Linked DNA regions of Homo sapiens: all the other regions are linked to region 3. The links are contacts of gene promoters, found by promoter capture Hi-C in blood cells and fetal thymus (Javierre and others, 2016). All regions are on one chromosome and are shown on one strand. Each heading gives the region's core, a stretch centred on a gene start or on the middle of the fragment in contact. The rest is flanking DNA. Distances are from core to core; before and after follow the strand shown.

Region 1 (3,672 bases), core at 354-2,853, 390 kb after region 3:
ATCTCAGATTATTTATAAGCAGGTAGTTTGGGATATTCAGGCAGCAGGTGTCAAGATAGTTGAGCCTGGCCTAGGGTCCTTTCCTTTCCATTCCAGGTAACTGGAAACTATCCTTATCTATATAACACAAAGAGCCCTGATTAGCCTACTCAGGGCTCTTTGTGTTATATAGATAAGGATTCTCAAACAGTTGTTAATAAGGCAAAACATTTGTAGAAACAGTTATAAAAATTCTATACACAAACTGGAAGATATTAGTATGAACATTTATTGCCGGGCATGGTGGCTCATGCCTGTAATCCCAGCACTATGGGAGGCTGATGCGGGCAGATCACTTGAGGTCAGGAGTTCGAGGCCAGCCTGGCCAACATGGTGAAACCCCGTCTCTACTAAAATACAAAAATTAACTGGACATGGTGGTGGGCGCCTGTAATCCCAGCTACTTGGGAGGCCGAGATGGGAGAATTGCTTGAACCCAGGAGGTGGAGATTGCAGTGAGCCGAGATTGCACCACTGTGCTGCAGCCTGGGCGACAGAGCAAGACTCCCTCTCAAAAAAAATGTATTAGTTATCTTAAGTTTGAATAAAAAAAGCTTGATTTATAAGTCTTACAAGTTCTCTCCCATTTTATGTCCTTCGTTTTATGCCTAGATTGGATTTGTAAGTGAACTTGTTTGCATATTGAGTATATTCTTGGTGAAAGAAGCAGAGAATTAATGCAATTCTGTGGCCTCTTCTTCCTGATGACATCCTTCCTTTCCCAGATGGCCAAAAAGGCTTTGAAATCTGAGTCCGCTGCCTCAAGTACAGGGAAGGAAGATAAACAGCCAGCACCAGGGCCTGTGGAAAAGCCACCCAGAGAACCCGCAAGGTAAAAAGATGCTCTCTTGTGATCTTGGGTAAAACACTAGGGTGGTCGCTGGAAGCAGTCTCCTCCTTAGGCCAGGATCAGTTCCTCTCAGCACTCCGACCTACTAACGTGTTACGAGGTTACTCATACAAGGCACTGGGGGAGACTGCACACCCTGGGAAGATAAGGAAACAGGATGCCTGGGGTCCCTGACAACTTCCTGACTGGCCATTCCTCAAAGGCTCTTTCACCATTTCTCTCTCCTTGCCTCCCCCGTATTGACTCAGTACTTTTCTTGTGGACACCTAATCTCTTAATACATTCAGGAAGCACTGCTCAGATCTGTGAGTCGAATCCCAAAACCAGTTCCTAAAGCAGGGGTCACAAGCTTAGATGCCCTTTGAGGGCCGGTTAGGAAACCTAAAGGAACAAAGTGGACCTAGGCTGAGAGCATGGGGCTGGGAACCAGGGGATGTGCTTTTCAGCTTCTTGTGGTTGTTGCTCTGTGGGAGTATCCAAGGATGCTCAGGCTTCAGGTGCTCAGATTTTTGTATGAGATGTCCAGGGTTTTCCATGAGATTTCCCAGTTTTTGGATGTTAACAGTTGATCCACTTAAAAAATTTTTTTTCATGTTGGTTAGACAACAAGACAGGCTGCCAGATGGATTTGGCCTGCAGGCTGCCAGTTTGCCCCCTCTCCTAACAGTTTTTCCCTAAAGCATACTAACTGTTCCAAATGATAGATGAACTTTATTTTTAAAAGGCAGTTTCTCATTGTTCCAAGACTGTGTGGCATGCCTTTTACTCTGAGAATTCTCAAGATCCTGCTCTTAAGTGTGTTGTAGGCCGGGTGTGGTGGATCACGCCTGTAATCCCAGCACTTTGGGAGGCCGAGGTGGGTGGATCGCTTGAGCCCAGGAGTTCTAGGATACAGTGAGCTGTGTTTGTGCCACTGTATCCTATCTCTCTGTCCTATCTACTGTCTAGGACAGACCCAGACCCTATCTCTAAAAATAAAATGAGAAGTAAAATAAAGGTTCTCTAACTTGGAGTTTTAAATTCATAATACAACTTACATATCACATTTAAAGCCTCCTCAACTGGAATTTGAAGCTTCAAACTTCAAAAAAGTTGTGGCTGTTTGGATGAGCATCATCAGTGGTGAAAAACATCTTTGTGCCTATGCTTGATTTGCAGGCAGCTACGGAATCCTCCAACCACCATTGGAATGATGACTCTGAAAGCAGCTTTCAAGACTCTGTCTGGTGCACAGGATTCTGAGGCAGCCTTTGCAAAACTGGACCAGAAGGATCTGGTTCTTCCTACTCAAGCTCTCCCAGCATCACCAGCCCTCAAAAACAAGAGACCCAGAAAAGATGAAAACGAAAGTTCAGCCCCGGCTGACGGTGAGGGTGGCTCGGAACTGCAGCCCAAGAACAAGCGCATGACAATAAGCAGATTGGTCTTGGAGGAGGACAGCCAGAGTACTGAGCCCAGCGCAGGCCTCAACTCCTCCCAGGAGGCCGCTTCAGCGCCACCATCCAAGCCCACCGTTCTCAACCAACCCCTCCCTGGAGAGAAGAATCCCAAGTATGAAGACCTTCTTTGTAGAAATTTTGGGGCTGGTTGGTGGTCCTGGTTGGGCCTGGTATTACTTCCGTGAATGAAGTAACTTTCAGCTAAGTTACTCACCACCAAGGCTTGCTCAGACTGCTAGAACTTGACGCAGGAGTGGCCAGTGACGACGTAGCCATCCCTGCCGGTTCTGAAGCCCCGCATGTGGGCTTCCAAGCCTTGCACTAGGGCATGAGTGGGAATGGAAAGGTTTCAGAGCCTCCTACTCATCGCTGCTTTCATTTTTAGCAAACATCTGAGTGTCTTGACTTCTAAACATTAGTCTTGTGTGTTAAAAGAAATTTGTTTGCATTGGGCCACATTATACTTTGACCCTTAAAAAGAGACTGATGAATATGTATAATTTTGCACCCTTCTGAGCATTTGAGACTTGGCAAGTTCAGTGAATACTTACTAATCTCCCATGTCCTGCTAGGTACTGTGGGGCAGTGGCTAGAATACTTTAATTTTGCTCCCCATTGTGATTCTCATCCTGGCTTTGAGTTTTGCTTCCCTTTGTGTCCTGTGGTGGATCCTCCCTCCAGGCAGACTGGCCTGCTTGCTCTCTGGAACATGTTGTTTGTTTCTACCACTGTACTTTTGCTTCCTCTCATTCCCCACAGTGGACCGTCATCCCTTCATCATTGCTTGTCCAAATCCCATTTGTCCTTTAAAGGGAAGAAAAGCCGTTGTTGATGAAGTGCTTTCTGGGGGCAGAGCACTTTCATGTATCATCTTACTGAGTCACTACAATCCTCACTCTGTGAGGTGATGATATATTAGCCCCATTACACAGAGGAGAAGGGCTCAGAAAAGTTCTTAGCTCACCTGAAGTCACACAGCTAAAAGTGGCAAAGATGGGCTTTGGATTTTTAATCCAAGTCAGTCTTGACAGAAAAGCCCATGGCCTGTATACCATATACAACAAGTTGCCTCTCTTACAATTCTCCTTCCTCAGGCTGGGTGCGCTGGCTCACACCTGTAATCCCAGCACTTTGGGAGGCTGAGGCAGGCAGATTACCTGAGGTCAGGAGTTTGAGAGCAGCCTGGCCAACATGGTGAAACTCCGTCTCTACTAAAAATACAAAAATTCGCCAGGCGTGGTGGTGGGCGCCTGTAGTCCCAGCTACTTGGGAAGCTGAGGCAGGAGAATTACTGGAACCCGGGAGGCGGAGGCTGCACAGTGAGCCAAGATTGCACCACTGCAC
Region 2 (3,590 bases), core at 305-2,804, 330 kb after region 3:
CCGTCTCGGCCTCTCAAAGTGCTGGGATTACAGGCGTGAGCCACCGCGCCCGACCGGAAAGCACTTTTAAAAGCATAAAATGCCATACACCATACAAATGCAAGAAGTTAGTAAATTCTGAGTTTGTTAAATTATTGTTCACTATTAAGATTTATTAAAAATAATGTTCTTTGGGGGAAACTTTTAAATTTTAAAAGTTTTTAGAATTAAAAGTCAGGATGCAGAGATTTCTCTTTTAGGCCCCAAATTAATCGAAAAAATATTTCACTAGTATATTTGCTTCAGAGAAATAGAAGTGAACTTTCACAAGTCATTAATCTATTGCTCAAAATAAAATGATCACACACAAACCGAAAATCAAAGCTTCAAACATACACACACCGAAAATCAAAGCTTCAAACCAATCTTTAGCGGCTGCATATCACTAGTTGCCTGGGGTTGGGAGAGAATGACTGCAAAGGGAAAGGAAGCTTTTTAGAATGATGGAAATGGTTTATGTCTTAACATGGATGAATACATTTTTCAAAACTCATCAAAATGTACATTTTAGATAGGCACAATTTACGTATGTACATTACACCTCAATAAAGTTTTAAATATTTAGAAGTCTATCCTGTTTCCTTAAAAAAAAAATTAGTTGCACCATGGTCTCAAAAATAATTTTTAAAATGAGATGTAATGCAACAGACTTGAAGATTAAATAAAACAGTCTTGAATATTTAAGAAAAATGACAAAACATGAGTCAAAAACAAAAAAAAAGGGTTGATTTATGAGTTTCTGGCCTCAAGGTCAACTCAGATTAGGGGGAAAAAAAAACAGTGGAGGCATAATCAAGATGGGGAAGCGTGTGGAGAGAAATCTCAGCTTCTACTCTAGAAGACGAAAACCAAAACCGGTATTACTTCAGAAGGCACACTGGAAAAGCACAGATGTGGGTGCACTTCAGACCTAGGTTCAACGGATCTAAGCTGCTAACTCTATGGCCCTGAGAGTCCTCAACCTGTGAGCCTCAGTTTCCCTTTCTGTAAAATAAAGATAATGATGGCTTAGAGTTTAGCTGAGCACACAGCAAATGCTCGACACATAAGTAATACATGATATTACATAAGGCACCAGAACTCGGAGCTGACTGGAAATGCATGCAAACTAAAGCCCTCCCCCAATCCCACCCCAGTTTCCCTCTGAGGGTCGTGATCCCTTTCTTACGCCTTATCGCCCCCAGCCAAGCCTCCCTTCCTTCCCACATACACTCCACACAGCCTTTTCACCCCTCGCCCCAGCAGCTTCAGAGGCCTCCCACCTCCCAGGCCCCACCTCGTTGAGGAAGCGGGTGACATCGTAGACTCGCCCATGGATCACAAGCCACAGTTCCTTCAAGGAGTTGCGCTTTGCCACCTCCTCCAACCGGTAATAGGTGACTGAGGTCTCGACTTCCTGCCCTTTCCCATCGCTGCCGCTAGCTTCCGCAGTCGCCATTGAACCGGACATACTGCCTCTCCACCGCTAACTGAGATTCCGCGACTACTTTCCTTGAGAGCCCGCGCTCAGCCTTCCTCGGCTTCCGTAACCAGGGCCCATAAGGCCTTGAGACGGTTCCTAGCAACAGCCAATCACACTTCCGAATAGTTCCTGGTTCGTTTTCTTTTCACCAATGAAGGGAGTGGCTCAGTTCGAAATCCCGCCCACTCCTCGCCCGATCCTCCAGATGAAAGTCTGGTTCGAGGTCCAACTAACCAATTAGGGTCGTTCAGCCCCCTCCAACCTCGCCAATCAGATACCGCGATTTTTGGACTGGCGCCCAAAAGAGGCGTGCTGACAGGTGTCACTTCAGGAGAGGTACCACTTCTCTCAGCCTGTGGGCCTTTAGGGTCTCCAGTGTTCTGCTTCCCTTCCCATCGCTGTGGCTTTCTCCTGAGTCTCAGAAAGTTCCTATCCCCTACACTACCGGCGCAGCCTGTATCCCAACCCTGATTTTACATCTTTGCTGCCTCCAGGTCGTGATCTGGCCAATCCCGTCTCTCCTCAATTTCCCCATCAGTAAAATGGGCTTGATAAAGCACTCTCTTACAGAGGGGTTTGCCTTTTTTTTTTTTTTTTTTTTTTTTGAGACAAGTTCTCGCTCTGTCTCCTAGGCCAGAGTGCAGTGGCACGATCTCGGCTTACTGCAAACTCCGCCTCCCAGGTTCAAGCGATTCTCCTACCTCAGCCTCTCGACTAGCTGGAACTACAGGCATGCGCCACCACGCCCGGCTAATTTTTGTATTTTTAGTAGAGAGTAGGTTTCACCATGTTGGCCAGGCTGGTCTCGAACTCCTGACCTCAGGTGATCCGCCTGCGTAGGCCTCCCAAAGTGCTGGGATTACAGGCGTGAGCCACCGCGCCTGGCCCGGTTTGCCTATTTTAATGAGAGTGCCTGTAAAGCGCTTGGCGCATAGTAATCGCTAAACATGGCAGTCGATTAGAAAGGCAATTGCTGTCCCGGACAGCAATTGGGGGTAGAATGTGGAGTATCCTATGTTTCTACCATCATTCAGAATCCGATTTTCAAACGAATTCTGTGATGATCAGGATCAATCGGCACTATTTTAGTCTCTACGTGATCTAAAATAGAATTGAACTCAACTGCTCTCCGCTAGAGGTCCCAGCACTTTGGAATTCCAAGTTTGGTTAAGGTACAGTGTTGTGCGCCACTTTTTAACTGCCATTACAACTGACAGATTGCTCTTCCTATGATGTCGTCGTTTTCATCCTGTCACTCTCGCAGTCTACCATTCAGGGCTCTCCACAATCCATTCGCAACCTCTTTCACTAACGTATAATATTTTCCACCATTCCCTTTATAAGCCTGTTGCACCCGCCCCGACTCTGAAACCTGCTGGTTTAAAACCACATCCGTGGTCATCCCAGGTCCACCAAGTTAATTTTAGATCACTTAGAGACTAAAATAGTGCAGATTGATCCTGATCATCACAGAATTCATTTGAAAATCGGATTCTGAATGGTGGTAGAAACATGGGATACTCCACATTCTACCCTCAATTGCTGTCCCAAGGACTCCTCTTCCTTTCAATGCCTACCGGCTTTTCAAGTTCCTCTTCAGTTTCTTCTATTTTCAAACTTCTCCTACCGTTTTGAGCTCCAGTGCTTCCATCCCTTTGTAGTACCTAAGAAAGCATATTACTATTTTGGGAAGCCTGCTACGTCTGTAAATTTTAACTTTACGTATTTTACCTCCCTAGTTAGACTGACACTATGAGAGCAATCTCACAAGATTCTTAGGATCCTCCACAAACTCTAGATTCAAATATTTACATTTATTCCAGACATTTACTATTTACTGTTACAAGTCTTATGATAGGCATTGGGAGTAGAGAGATAACATAAGAAACAAAATCTCTGAAAGAAATAAAAACATTTACAGGCTGAATGTGGTGGCTCAAGCCCCGTAATTCCAGCACTTTGGGAGGCCGAGGTGGACAGATCACTTGAGCCCAGGAGTTCAAGACCAGGCTGGGCAACATAGTGAGGCTCTTGTCTCTTCAAAAAATACAAAAATTATCTACGCATGGTGGCACACAACTGTAATCCC
Region 3 (3,806 bases), core at 74-2,573:
AGCCCATTAATCTTGATCATTCTGTTTTTTTGGTTTGTTTGTTGTTTTTTTTTTTTTTTTTTTTTGTCCATCTTGTTTCATTTGCTTGCCCTGCCCCCGAGATGGAGTCTTACTCTGTCGCCCAGGCTGGAGTGTAGTGGCACGATCTCGGCTCACTGCAATCTCTGCCTCTCGGGTTCAAGCTTGTCCAGGCTGATCTTGAACTCCTGACCTCGTGATCCCCTGCCTCAGCCTCCCAAAATGCTGGGATTACAGGGGTGAGCCACCGTGCCCAACCTCACTTGCTTTCTTATCCTTACACTCCCCCAGTCCCAGAGAAACTGCCACATACACCACAAAAACCAAACATCCCCCAATGACCTTAGCCGCATTGCTCCATTCACTCCCAGGTGAGAATTCAGGTAAACGTCCACAAAGGTCACAGGCAACGTACATACGGTTCTATTATATCCCATATATTACCCCTTCATGTCCTAAAGAAGACATTTTCTCTTAGAGATTTTCATTTTAGTATATCTTTAAAAAAAAATCTTGTGTTAACTTGCCTCCATCTTTTTCTTGGGTGAGGACACCCAGGAATGACCCTTTTGTGTCTATGATACTGCTGTTCACAGCTTTTCTTGATAGGCCTAGTACAATCTTGGGAACAGGGTTACTGTATACTGAAGGTCTGACAGTAGCTCTTAGACTCGCCTATCTTAGGTAGTCATGCTGTGCCTTTTTTTTCCATTGGTGTATTGTATTTGATTTGTCTCTGATATATTTGGAGTTTTTCTGAGAACTGGAGCAGTAATGCAGCATCGACCTATTAAAATACATTTTAAGCCTTTAAAAAAAAACAGTACCTATCTCATAGGGGTGCTGTGATAACGAAATTAGGTAATCTGTATTGATTGACTTTTAACCATAAGAATATATACAGGTTTTAAATTTATTTATTTATTGAAGAGATGGGGGTCTCTCTATGTTGCCCAGGCTGGTTTCACATTCCAGGGCTCAGGCAATCCTTTCGCCTCAGCCTCCTTAATAGCTGGGACTCTAGGCGCGCACCACTACACCTGGCAGGTTTTATCTTCAAAGGTGAAGAAGGCACTAAGGTCTAGATGCTGAAGCCGATTTCCCAGGTGTCCCCCAAGGTTTGACCCCGCCCACACTTCTCTGGCTATGCGGGCGGCGTCGCTGCGCATGCGCGCGAGTAGAGCAGGGAGGTGCTGGCGCGGCCGCCAGGAGGCGCAGCTAAGTCGCGGCTGCTCTTCCTGGTTCCCAGAGGCCCAGACTTGGACATAGGAGCCGGCGCAAGCTCCGTGCGCATGCGCGCTCCCCTCTCACGCAGCCAACATGGCTCCAGTGGAGCACGTTGTGGCGGATGCTGGGGCTTTCCTGCGGCATGCGGCTCTGCAGGTACGGGGAGCTCCCTCCGGGACGAGAGAGATCTGGGCTGGCCGCCCCTCCCGGAGTGCGTGGAGTCGCGCGGAGCGTTGCTTGGTGCGGGTGGGTCTGAGCTGGGGCGTTCTGTCCGCAGGACATCGGGAAGAACATTTACACCATCCGGGAGGTGGTCACTGAGATTCGGGACAAGGCCACACGCAGGCGGCTCGCTGTCCTGCCCTACGAGCTGCGGTTCAAGGAGCCCTTACCGGAATACGTGCGGCTGGGTGAGTGCCTCTGCCCTAGCGTTGACGGGAAGCTGGGGTCCAGGGCGCAGATGGCACCCAGTTGGGTGCGAGTTGGGGTCTAGCTGCCTTATCAGAGCAGTAGATTTAGAGCCAGCACTTTCTAGGAGATTGTGGTAGGAGAGAGGCTTCCTGGGTCTGGAGTCCTCCAGTAACTAGCTGTATGCTCTCGGGCATAGCATTCAAATTTGGGCCTCGTTTACCTCATCCGCAAAATGGGAATAATAATTGTATCTGTCTCCAAGGTTGCTGTGAGCATGAACTGAGGAATATGGCAGTCAGCTCAGTGTCAAGCACTTTGCAGACAAGCAATAAATTTATTTGGATTTAAAATAAGAGTTTGGATCTCTTGCTATTACTCTCGTCCATTTCTTTTCAGTAGATTGGGCTGATGACTGGATACAAAGATCTGCACCTGGCAGAGCTTTAAAAAGGGAATGCTTTGCATTGTATTAAATGTGAAAGAAAATTAAGCTGGGCGCGGTGGCTTACGGCCTGTAATCCCAGCACTGGGAGACCGAGGCGGGCGCATCACCTGAGGTCAGGAGTTTGAGACCAGCCTGACCAACATGGTGAAACCCTGCCTCTACTAAAAATACAAAATTAGCTGGGCGTGGTGGTGTGCTCCTGTAATCCCAGCTACTTGGGAGGCTGAGGCAGGAGAATTGCTTGAACCTGGAGGTGGAGGTTGCAGTGAGCCGAGATCGTACCACTGCACTCCAGCCTGGGCGACAGAGCGAGACTCTGTCTCAAAAAAAATAAGAAATAAAGAAAATTAAAGAATTGTCTCTTGGCTTAGGAGTCAGCGTTGTTCTCTTGTTGGGAATCAAGGTGATACCCAGGAAAGGCCCCTCAGTGGTTGGAAGTGTTTTAGAGGTTAGAGGCTGATAGTGGAGATGATGTTACCTCCTCTGTTTGTGATTTCTACGATTTTCTCCACCAACTTAGTAGCTCTGTGATCTTTGCCAACTTACTAAATCTTTCCGAGGAAATACTAATAGTACTTTTGAAGAATGGCAAAGGATGAAATGCATTAACACATAAAGCTTTTAATGCAGTGCCTAGTACACAGTAAGTGCACAGTAAATTTTCGTTGCTGCTAATGTCTGTTTTTTAGGAAATAAGAGCAATATACCTAGTGTTCCTTGTACCAGGGTAGCAGGAGACATCTTTCTGTTAATTTCAGGAAATTTTAAGTGTTTATTATGGATGACTCTGGAGAATAACAGCAGTCTGACATGTATTATGCATTAAGCACATGCTTTTTGTTTCCTCATAGACTACTACAATTACAAGTTGAGCATACTGAATCTGAAATCCAGAATGCTCCTAAATCTGAAACTTTTTTTTTTTTGAGATGGAGTCTGGCTGTGTTGCCTAGCCTGGAGTGCAGTGGCACGATCTTGGCTCACTGCAGCCTCCACCTCCTGGGTTCCAGCAATTCTTCTGCCTCAGCCTCCCCAGTAGCTGGGACTACAGGCACACGCCACCACACCTGGCTAACTTTTGTATTTTTAGGAGACAAGGGGTTTCACCATGTTGGCCAGGCTGGTCTGGAACTCCTGACCTCAAGTGATCTACCCACCTCAGCCTCCTGTAGTGAGGTGTGAGCCACCACGCCCCAACTTTCTTCTTTTTTTTGAGAAGGAGTCTCACTCTGTCGCCCAGGCTGGAGTGCAGTGGCGCAATCTTGACTCACTGCAACCTCCGCCTCCCAGGTTCAAACAATTCTCCTGCCTCCGCCTCCTGAGTAGCTGGGATTACAGGCCCCCCCGCTACCACACCGGGATAATTTTTGTATATTTATTAGAGACAGGTTTCACCACGTTGGCCAGGCTGGTCTCCTGACCTCAAGTGATCCGCCCACCTCTGCCTCCCAAAGTGTTGGGATTACAGGCGTGAGCCACCACGCCTGGCCCCAGCCAACTTTCTGCTCCTTCCTCTGTATTTGATAAGGGTGTTACAGTAAATCTAACTGGCATGAATCTTGGTGGTGGAGAATACAAATTTCTCAACTGCGAGTAGGAAAAGGTCAGAAAATGGATGAAAGTGTTAAGGTTTTTCATGACATAGTGATCCTTTCTAAATTGTTTTGATACTTCCATTATTTTGATCTGTTCTAAATTGTTTTGA
Region 4 (3,508 bases), core at 835-3,334, 370 kb after region 3:
ACTTGAGGCCAGGAGTTCGAGACAGCGTGGCCAACATGGTGAAACCCCGTCTCTACTAAAAATACAAAAATTAGCCAGGCGTGGTGGCACACGCCTGTAATCCCAGCTACTCGGGAGGCTGAGGCAGGAGAATCACTTGAACCCGGGAGGCGGAGGTTGCAGTGAGCCAAGATCGTGCCACTGCACTCCAGCCTGGGCAACAGAACAAGACTCTGTCTCAGAAAAAAAAAAAAAAAGTTAGAATTGAAAGGCAAGTGATTTGGCACCAGGCATAGTAGCTCAACCCTGAAATCCCCAGCACTTTAGGAGACCAGGGTGGGAGGAGTGCTTGAGGCCAGGAGTTCGAGACCAGCCTGGGCAACACGGCAAGACCCCTAATTCTACGAAAAAAAATTTCAAATTACCCAGGCATGGTGGCACACGCTGGTAGTCTTAGCTACTTGGGAGGTTGAGGCAGGAGGATCACTTGAGCCCAGGAGTTCAAGGCTGCAGTGAGCACGATTGTGCCACTGCACTCCAACCTGCATTACAGAGTGAAACTTTCTCAAAAAAACTAAAATAAAGGCAAGTGATTTGGTTCCTGGTTAAGGCAAGCAGGCTGGAATGGAAAAGCAGCCATGGGCCGGGCGCAGTGGCTCACGCCTGTAATCCCAGCACTTTGGGAGACCGAGGCGGGCGGATCACGAGGTCAGGAGATGGAGACCATCCTGGCTAACACAGTGAAACCCCGTCTCTACTAAAAATACAAAAAATTAGCTGGGCATGGTAGTGGGCGCCTGTAGTCCCAGCCACTCGGGAGGCTGAGGCAGGAGAATGGCATGAACCCAGAGGCGGAGCTTGCAGTGAGCCGAGATCGTGCCACTGCACTCCAGCTTGGGCGACAGAACGAGATTCCATCTCAAGAAAAACAAAGAAAAAAAAGAAAAGCAGCTATGATCACCAAAGATCAGTCAGACCTAGAGGCCTCTTCTCTCATCCCGGAACGTGTACCTCATAGAACTTTTGGCTTTCCAGGATACTATACATATTAAGGTCCTGATATTAATTCACAGGTCCAGCATGGGATTCACATCCTCAAGGACATGGCCACCTGCACTTCTGAGTTGTCTTTGAGTGGCCCCAAACTGGATCTTTGCAGGTTCCAGACTAGTGGGGCTGGTAGGACAATCTTTGAAGCTAGACCAGTTACTGGGCCTCTCAGGAAGAGGCACCCACAACCACCATCCTGAACTAAGGTCTGAGCTGGAGGTTCTCCATTTGGTCAAGTGCCAGTTGGTGAATTCCAAGAGTATCAGAGATATCTGAAAGTGACTCAGACCCTCTATGGGACTATGGGTGGTCCTTTTGCTTATTTTTCTAATTGTTCTACAACAAAATGTGTTATTTTTGTGATTACAAAGAGTATATGTCTAGCGGCTGGGTTGCCAGGTGCATTCTATTTATTGGTATCACACTGGTCTTTGCTTTATAATTACAGTATTTGTTAAAATACAAATTTGTTTAAAGACTTTCCTCTGTGTATGCTCTCTTCCACAATTTTCAAAGTGTTTAATAAGGTGCACATATTTGGTTTTCTTTTTTTTCTTTTCTTTTTTTTGAGACGGAGTTTCGCTCTTGTTGCCCAGACTGGAGTGCAATGGCGCGATCTCGGCTCACCGCAACCTCCGCCTCGCGGGTTCAAGCGAGTCTCCTGCCTCAGCCTCCTGAGTAGCTAGGATTACAGGCATGCGCCACCACGTCTGGCTAATTTTGTATTTTTAGTAGAGATGGGGTTTCTCCATGTTGGTCAGGCTGGTCTCGAACTCCCGACCTCAGGTGATCCACCCGCCTCAGCCTCCCAAAGTGCTGGGATTACAGGCGTAGAGCCACCGATCCCGGCCTGTTTTTCAGTCTCTAATACACTGTTCCGCGTCCCTAGCATAGTAGCTGTTTTCTGTAAATTCGGAGCGAAGTTGACTGCAAAACCCGCCGGGTTCACCGGCCTGGGCGGTGTGGACTTCAAGCCCCAGGAGGCATTGCGGCCGGCACATCGGGAACTACGGCGTCTGAGAAGGGGGCCGGGCCCTCCGGTCCTTTCCCTCCCAGAAGCCCGCGGGCGGCTCGGAACGCTGTTTCTATCATGGCCGCGGGAGCCGGGACGGCGGGCCCCGCTTCCGGCCCGGGCGTCGTGCGTGACCCAGCGGCGTCACAGCCGAGGAAGCGGCCCGGCCGGGAGGGCGGGGAGGGCGCGCGGCGATCGGACACGATGGCGGGAGGAGGCGGGAGTAGCGACGGCAGCGGGCGGGCAGCTGGCAGGCGGGCGTCCCGCAGTAGCGGGCGGGCCCGGCGGGGGCGCCACGAGCCGGGGCTGGGGGGCCCGGCGGAGCGCGGCGCGGGGGAGGCACGGCTGGAAGAGGCAGTCAATCGCTGGGTGCTCAAGTTCTACTTCCACGAGGCGCTGCGGGCCTTTCGGGGTAGCCGGTACGGGGACTTCAGACAGATCCGGGACATCATGCAGGGTGAGGGCCGGGCCGGGGGAGGGGGGTTGGAGCGCCGGGGAAGGGGGTCCGGGGGACCGGGAGTCGGGACTGGGGGTCGCCCAGCCAACGATGTCTTCTCTCCCAGCTTTGCTTGTCAGGCCCTTGGGGAAGGAGCACACCGTGTCCCGATTGCTGCGGGTTATGCAGTGTCTGTCGCGGATTGAAGAAGGGGAAAATTTAGGTATGGCTATTTTTGTGTTCTTCTCTGGGCTTACTTGCGTAGGGTTTTGTTTTAAAACTTATATCTAGAACTGAAGGATTCCAGGTTAAAGTGCGATAGTTTCCATCAGAGTGGTCTTTTTCATTCTACGATGGGTCTGTTTTCTGGCTCGACTGGCTCTAGTTTTCTCCGGTTAAGGTTGTCTTGGCTGCTTTTCTGTGTTTTTTTTAAATCTTCTCCCACCTGTTAATTGCTCACCCCAACTTTGCTCCTGTCTAAAGTGAGTTATGTTCATATGGACATCTTTTTTCCCCCATGGTAGAGAGTTTTTCAGAGTGGAAGTACTCTGACATTTTTCCCCTCTGAATTTAACTTGAAAGCTATTTAGCTGTTGTCAGTTTCTTGCCACTCGTATCTGAGGAGGATGGGTATATTCTGAATTTGAGAGGCAAATGCAGGTATTTAAAAATAATTTTTTTGCCTGTCTTGACAGGTGTTAAAAAATGGTCACGTTAAATTCATTGATTTGAATTTGGACCCTTATCGTGTATGTCAACCTGTAGCAAATATGTCAAAAAATTAAATGCAAATCTTACCATATTTGCATGCTCCATTTCCATAAATATATATATATAATTTTTGGACATAACTTTTTTACCCTTAGAAAAGAGCTTAAAAATGAAAACTGTGCTTTGTCCTAGACTGTTCCTTTGATATGGAGGCTGAGCTCACACCACTGGAATCAGCTATCAATGTGCTGGAGATGATTAAAACGGAATTTACACTGACAGAAGCAGTGGTCGAATCCAGTAGAAAACTGGTCAAGGAA
Region 5 (3,836 bases), core at 438-2,937, 350 kb after region 3:
TAGTCATCAATGAAATCTGGTCTTCTGGTTACTTGAGCCACTAAATTCACCTTTGCTTTTGCCCAAGCTGCTGGAGGTAGGCTCCTGTTCTTTGGTATGTGCACACACAGAACTCGGCCTCCACTTTCCAGAAGTGCTAACTATGAGCCCAGACCTGCCTTGTATGTTAAGAGCCCCCTCTGTGAGCGGTGCCCATTATGAATTTGAAAAATGATCATCTATTCTAAAACATTCAAACACATCTTGCTGCTGCATTTGGGGCAGCAATACTTGCTTCTTCATGTTGGCACCGTTTCTGCCTGTCAGCAACTTGGAAACCATACTGAAAATACAGGCCGGAGGGCATGTAGCTTAAGAGAAAACAAGTCTCATGGGTGTGTTACAATGTAGGAAATGCTAGCGAAAGTGTCTACCAGAGGATAGAGAGGTTAAAGTTCGGCCACCCTCTTTTTCTTTATATATAATGGGTGAGAGTTGGAGGTGGGAAAGGGAGAAAGAGAATCCCACCCAAACCAAAGAGGATGTTTGGACAAGTTAATCTGCGGAAAGCTCTAGAAATTTGATGCAGGGTGATGAAAAAGCTGTGGCATGATAACATCTAGTGTTTGATTAAGCCTTTCCTCTAGGCTGGATGTCATACTTAGCACTTTACATACATTGTAGCAATTCTAGTGGGTACTATTGTTATTCCCATCTTACAGATGATGAAACTAACACTGAGAGGAGTTAGAAACTTGCCCAAGGGTCCTGCTGGTAGAGCCAGGATTTGACATCAGGGCATTCTGAACCCTATATTTGCTAACCACTATGCCCTTCCTTTCTAGCTAAAGACCTGGGTTTGAATCTAGCTCTGTTACTTGCTGGTTGAGTGACCTTGAGCAAATCAACCTCTTTGAGCCTGTTGCCTCATGTAGAAAATTCAGGGAGTAGGCCGGGCGTGGTGGCTCACACCTGTAATCCCAGCACTTGGGAGGCCGAGGCAGGCAGATCACAGGGTCAAGAGATCGAGACCATCCTGGCTAACCAACATGGTGAAACCCCATCTCTACTAAAAATACAAAAATTAGGTGGGCGCAGTGGTGCATGCCTGTAGTCCCAGCTACTCAGGAGGCTGAGGCAGGAGAATCACTTGAACCCGGGAGGCAGAGGTTGCAGTGAGCCAAGATCGAGCCACTGCACTCCAGCCCAGGCAACAGAGCAAGACTCTGTCTCAAAAAAAAAAAAAAAAAAGAAGAAGACAGAAAGAAAGAAGGAAGGAAGGAAGGAAGGGAAAATTCAGGGATTATACTAAATAATTTGTTTTCTCTCTTTCAACTCTAACATTTCAAAAATTATAATATCCCCAATCCCCCAAACTAGGATTTGTATTCCTGGCTTGAACTTTTTTCGCTCAAGACCCTATAGATTGGTTTTCCCATGGATTTCGGATCAAAAGCTTCCTTTGAATTATGTATTCCTTTGAAACGGATTCAAATGCAGGGGGATCTGAAAAGACTTCATCCTTGCTGAGTGAATCAGCATCCCGTGAACACAGGTGACAAGTTCTGACCCATCCCTTCACTGTCTGATAAGCCCAAAGGTCATGCTCTGGACTCAAACCTACTCTTCCTTCTTCCTGCCCATTTTGTGGGTTTTCTGATAAGGTGCCCTAAGGCAGCTGTAACACTGTTTTCTCTCCCTACAAACACAGTCCCCAGGGCGTGCACTCTGCCTGCAAACTTCCCAGCTGCTTCCAGCTCTCCCTCTGCCCACAGCCCTTTATTGCTGCATTCCAACAAATTAGCCATGTGACAGATTATTTTTAACTTCAATAGAGCAGCTCCCTCTCTTTTAATATATCATGCTTGGCCCACATTCCCTCGGTGAAAAGGGCACCATCGGCTACTTCTGAGAACTTTTAATTACTCCAATTGTTTGCAAAACTCTCTTAGAAGCTTGGGAAAAAAATATTGCAAGCTACAGTTCTGATTACAAGAAGAAAAGAAAATACATTTCTTTCTCCGTTCCTCTCCAGTCCCCTTACTCTCCAGTTTTCTTATTTAGTGGAGACCTGGGAATTTTCCAGGTCTTCTCAAATCCCCTCTACCCCCCTGCCACCCATTATCTAAGAGCAGGTTTTTTTAAGTATAAGTCCATCTCGAAAAAAGCTAAAGAAAAAAAGTAATAAAGTGCAAATCTAATTGGGAGGAAGGGAGGGCAGTTTCCTGAGTAACAGAGACCCCCACCCCGATCCCACACAGAACCCTAGCAGGTGAAGGATGGCAGCTCCCAAAGCACTGAATGCCCAGCCATCCTAGGTCTTGGAAGTCTCCAAGAGGGTCCTGGAGGTTGAGCTTGACACTGAGGTTGAACCTTCTATCTTGAAGTCAACTGCACGTAAACAATGAGCATCTCAGTAACCACCGCATGGGCCAAAGGCCCTTCTCCAAGTTTTCTGAACTTTCTAAATCCCAGATACTTCTCTAATTTCTTTTTCTTTCTTTCTTTTTTTTCTTTTCTTTTTTTTTTTTTTTTTTTTTTGAGATAGAGATGGAGTTTCGCTTTTTCGCCCAGGCTGGAGTGCAATGGCGCCATCTCAGCTCACTGCAACCTCTGCCTCCCGGGTTCAATCGATTCTCCTGCCTCAGCCTCCCGAGTAGCTGTGATTACAGGCGCCCACCATCACGCTCAGCTAATTTTTGTATTTTTAATAGAGACGAGGTTTCACTATGTTGGCCAGGCTGGTCTTGAACTCCTGACATCAGGTGATCCACCCACCTCGGCCCACAGGCATGAGCCACTGCACCTGGCCCATATAGTGTTCTATTGCTAATGTAAAATAAAAAAATAAAAGGAGGGGAGAAAATATAAATGTGTTATTTTATTTTTAAAATTTTTTTGGAGACAGAGTCTCATCCTGTCATCCAAGCTGGAGTGCACTGGCACGATCTCAACTCACTGCACTTTCCACCTCCCGGGTTCAAGAGATTCTCATGCTTCAGCCTCCCAAGTAGCTGGGACTACAGGCATGCGCCACCACACCTGGGTAATTTTTTGTATTTTAGTAGAGACGGAGTTTCACTACATTGGCCAGGCTGGTCTTGAACTCCTGAGCTCAGGCAATCTACCCGCCTCTGCCTCCCAAAGTGCTAGCATTATAGGCGTGAGCCACCATGCTGGGCCTGTAAAGACAAGCCTGGCCAACATGATGAAACCCTGTCTCTACTAAAAATATTTAAAACATGTTATTTTAAACATGTACAAAATATCTATCTAGGGGAAGGTATTCTAGGAACTGGTAGAACTGGGGAAGGGAACTGGGCAACTGGACAACATAGATGGGGAAACAAATTTCACTTTATACTCTTTGTATCCTCAGAATTTTTAAATTATGTGAATGCATAACCTAATCCAGTATAATTACATTTTTTTTAAGTTGAAAGGAATATTTGGCAGTATTTCCAAGCACCTGGGCCCTCGAGATATGAGAAACGCCCACCATTTATGAATTGGGGCAGGAGGAAAGGGCCAGATCCCAGCTGTCACTCACTGTAGTCATGAACCGAAGCCATAGCATCACTATAGTAAGATAAAAGAGGTACCAAGAGGACAGGAGGAAACAAAATCAGTCTTGAGTCACATATGGGCATCATGGGTATTTATAAAAGGCTTAGACGGTTCCTTCCTAAATTTGAATTTATGTCAAGAGATAATCATTTCAGGAAGTGTGAGTTCCTCTCTTCAAACTGTTTTGGACAATCCCATTCTGATATGAGCTGCATAGAGCCAAGCTCATTTATAGGGAACATCTGTGTGGGAGGAAGGGGGGGAGTGGAAGAGCATAGAAAAGAGACCTC

The links. Contacts are between HindIII fragments. The CHiCAGO score rates a contact against its expected background, and 5 or more counts as called.
Region 1: a fragment that was not itself captured here is called in contact with the fragment with the promoter of NOB1 in region 3 in 2 of 17 cell types (endothelial precursors and activated CD4 T cells); the score reaches 6.5 in endothelial precursors.
Region 2: the fragment with the promoter of CYB5B here is called in contact with the fragment with the promoter of NOB1 in region 3 in 2 of 17 cell types (neutrophils and activated CD4 T cells); the score reaches 7.2 in neutrophils.
Region 4: the fragment with the promoter of TERF2 here is called in contact with the fragment with the promoter of NOB1 in region 3 in 13 of 17 cell types (neutrophils, endothelial precursors, megakaryocytes and 10 more); the score reaches 13.9 in neutrophils.
Region 5: a fragment that was not itself captured here is called in contact with the fragment with the promoter of NOB1 in region 3 in 8 of 17 cell types (neutrophils, activated CD4 T cells, endothelial precursors and 5 more); the score reaches 11.4 in neutrophils.

Annotation. Positions count from the first base shown.
Region 1 is chr16:69,365,575-69,369,246 of GRCh38, reverse strand. It overlaps TERF2 (telomeric repeat binding factor 2), which reads left to right. Exons shown (of 10, transcript NM_005652.5): 6 at 765-871; 7 at 2,048-2,440. Among named protein-coding and RNA genes, the nearest start is that of TMED6, 16 kb to the right of the region's middle. The HindIII fragment of the contact is 725 bases long and covers 1,241-1,965 here.
Region 2 is chr16:69,422,583-69,426,172 of GRCh38, reverse strand. It overlaps CYB5B (cytochrome b5 type B), which reads right to left and starts at 1,554. Exons shown (of 5, transcript NM_030579.3): 1 at 1,316-1,554. The coding sequence starts at 1,489. RefSeq lists enhancers at 1,176-1,723, 1,724-2,271. The HindIII fragment of the contact is 7,938 bases long and covers 473-3,590 here.
Region 3 is chr16:69,752,443-69,756,248 of GRCh38, reverse strand. NOB1 (NIN1 (RPN12) binding protein 1 homolog) reads left to right here and starts at 1,323. Exons shown (of 9, transcript NM_014062.3): 1 at 1,323-1,401; 2 at 1,523-1,655. The coding sequence starts at 1,339. It also overlaps the pseudogene NONOP1. RefSeq lists enhancers at 1,031-1,653, 1,654-2,277. The HindIII fragment of the contact is 2,537 bases long and covers 185-2,721 here.
Region 4 is chr16:69,384,583-69,388,090 of GRCh38, reverse strand. It overlaps TERF2 (telomeric repeat binding factor 2), which reads left to right and starts at 2,084. Exons shown (of 10, transcript NM_005652.5): 1 at 2,084-2,498; 2 at 2,605-2,700; 3 at 3,381-3,508. The coding sequence starts at 2,120. RefSeq lists a silencer at 2,089-2,468. The HindIII fragment of the contact is 13,848 bases long and covers 1-3,508 here.
Region 5 is chr16:69,402,440-69,406,275 of GRCh38, reverse strand. No RefSeq gene overlaps it. Among named protein-coding and RNA genes, the nearest start is that of TERF2, 18 kb to the right of the region's middle. The HindIII fragment of the contact is 499 bases long and covers 1,438-1,936 here.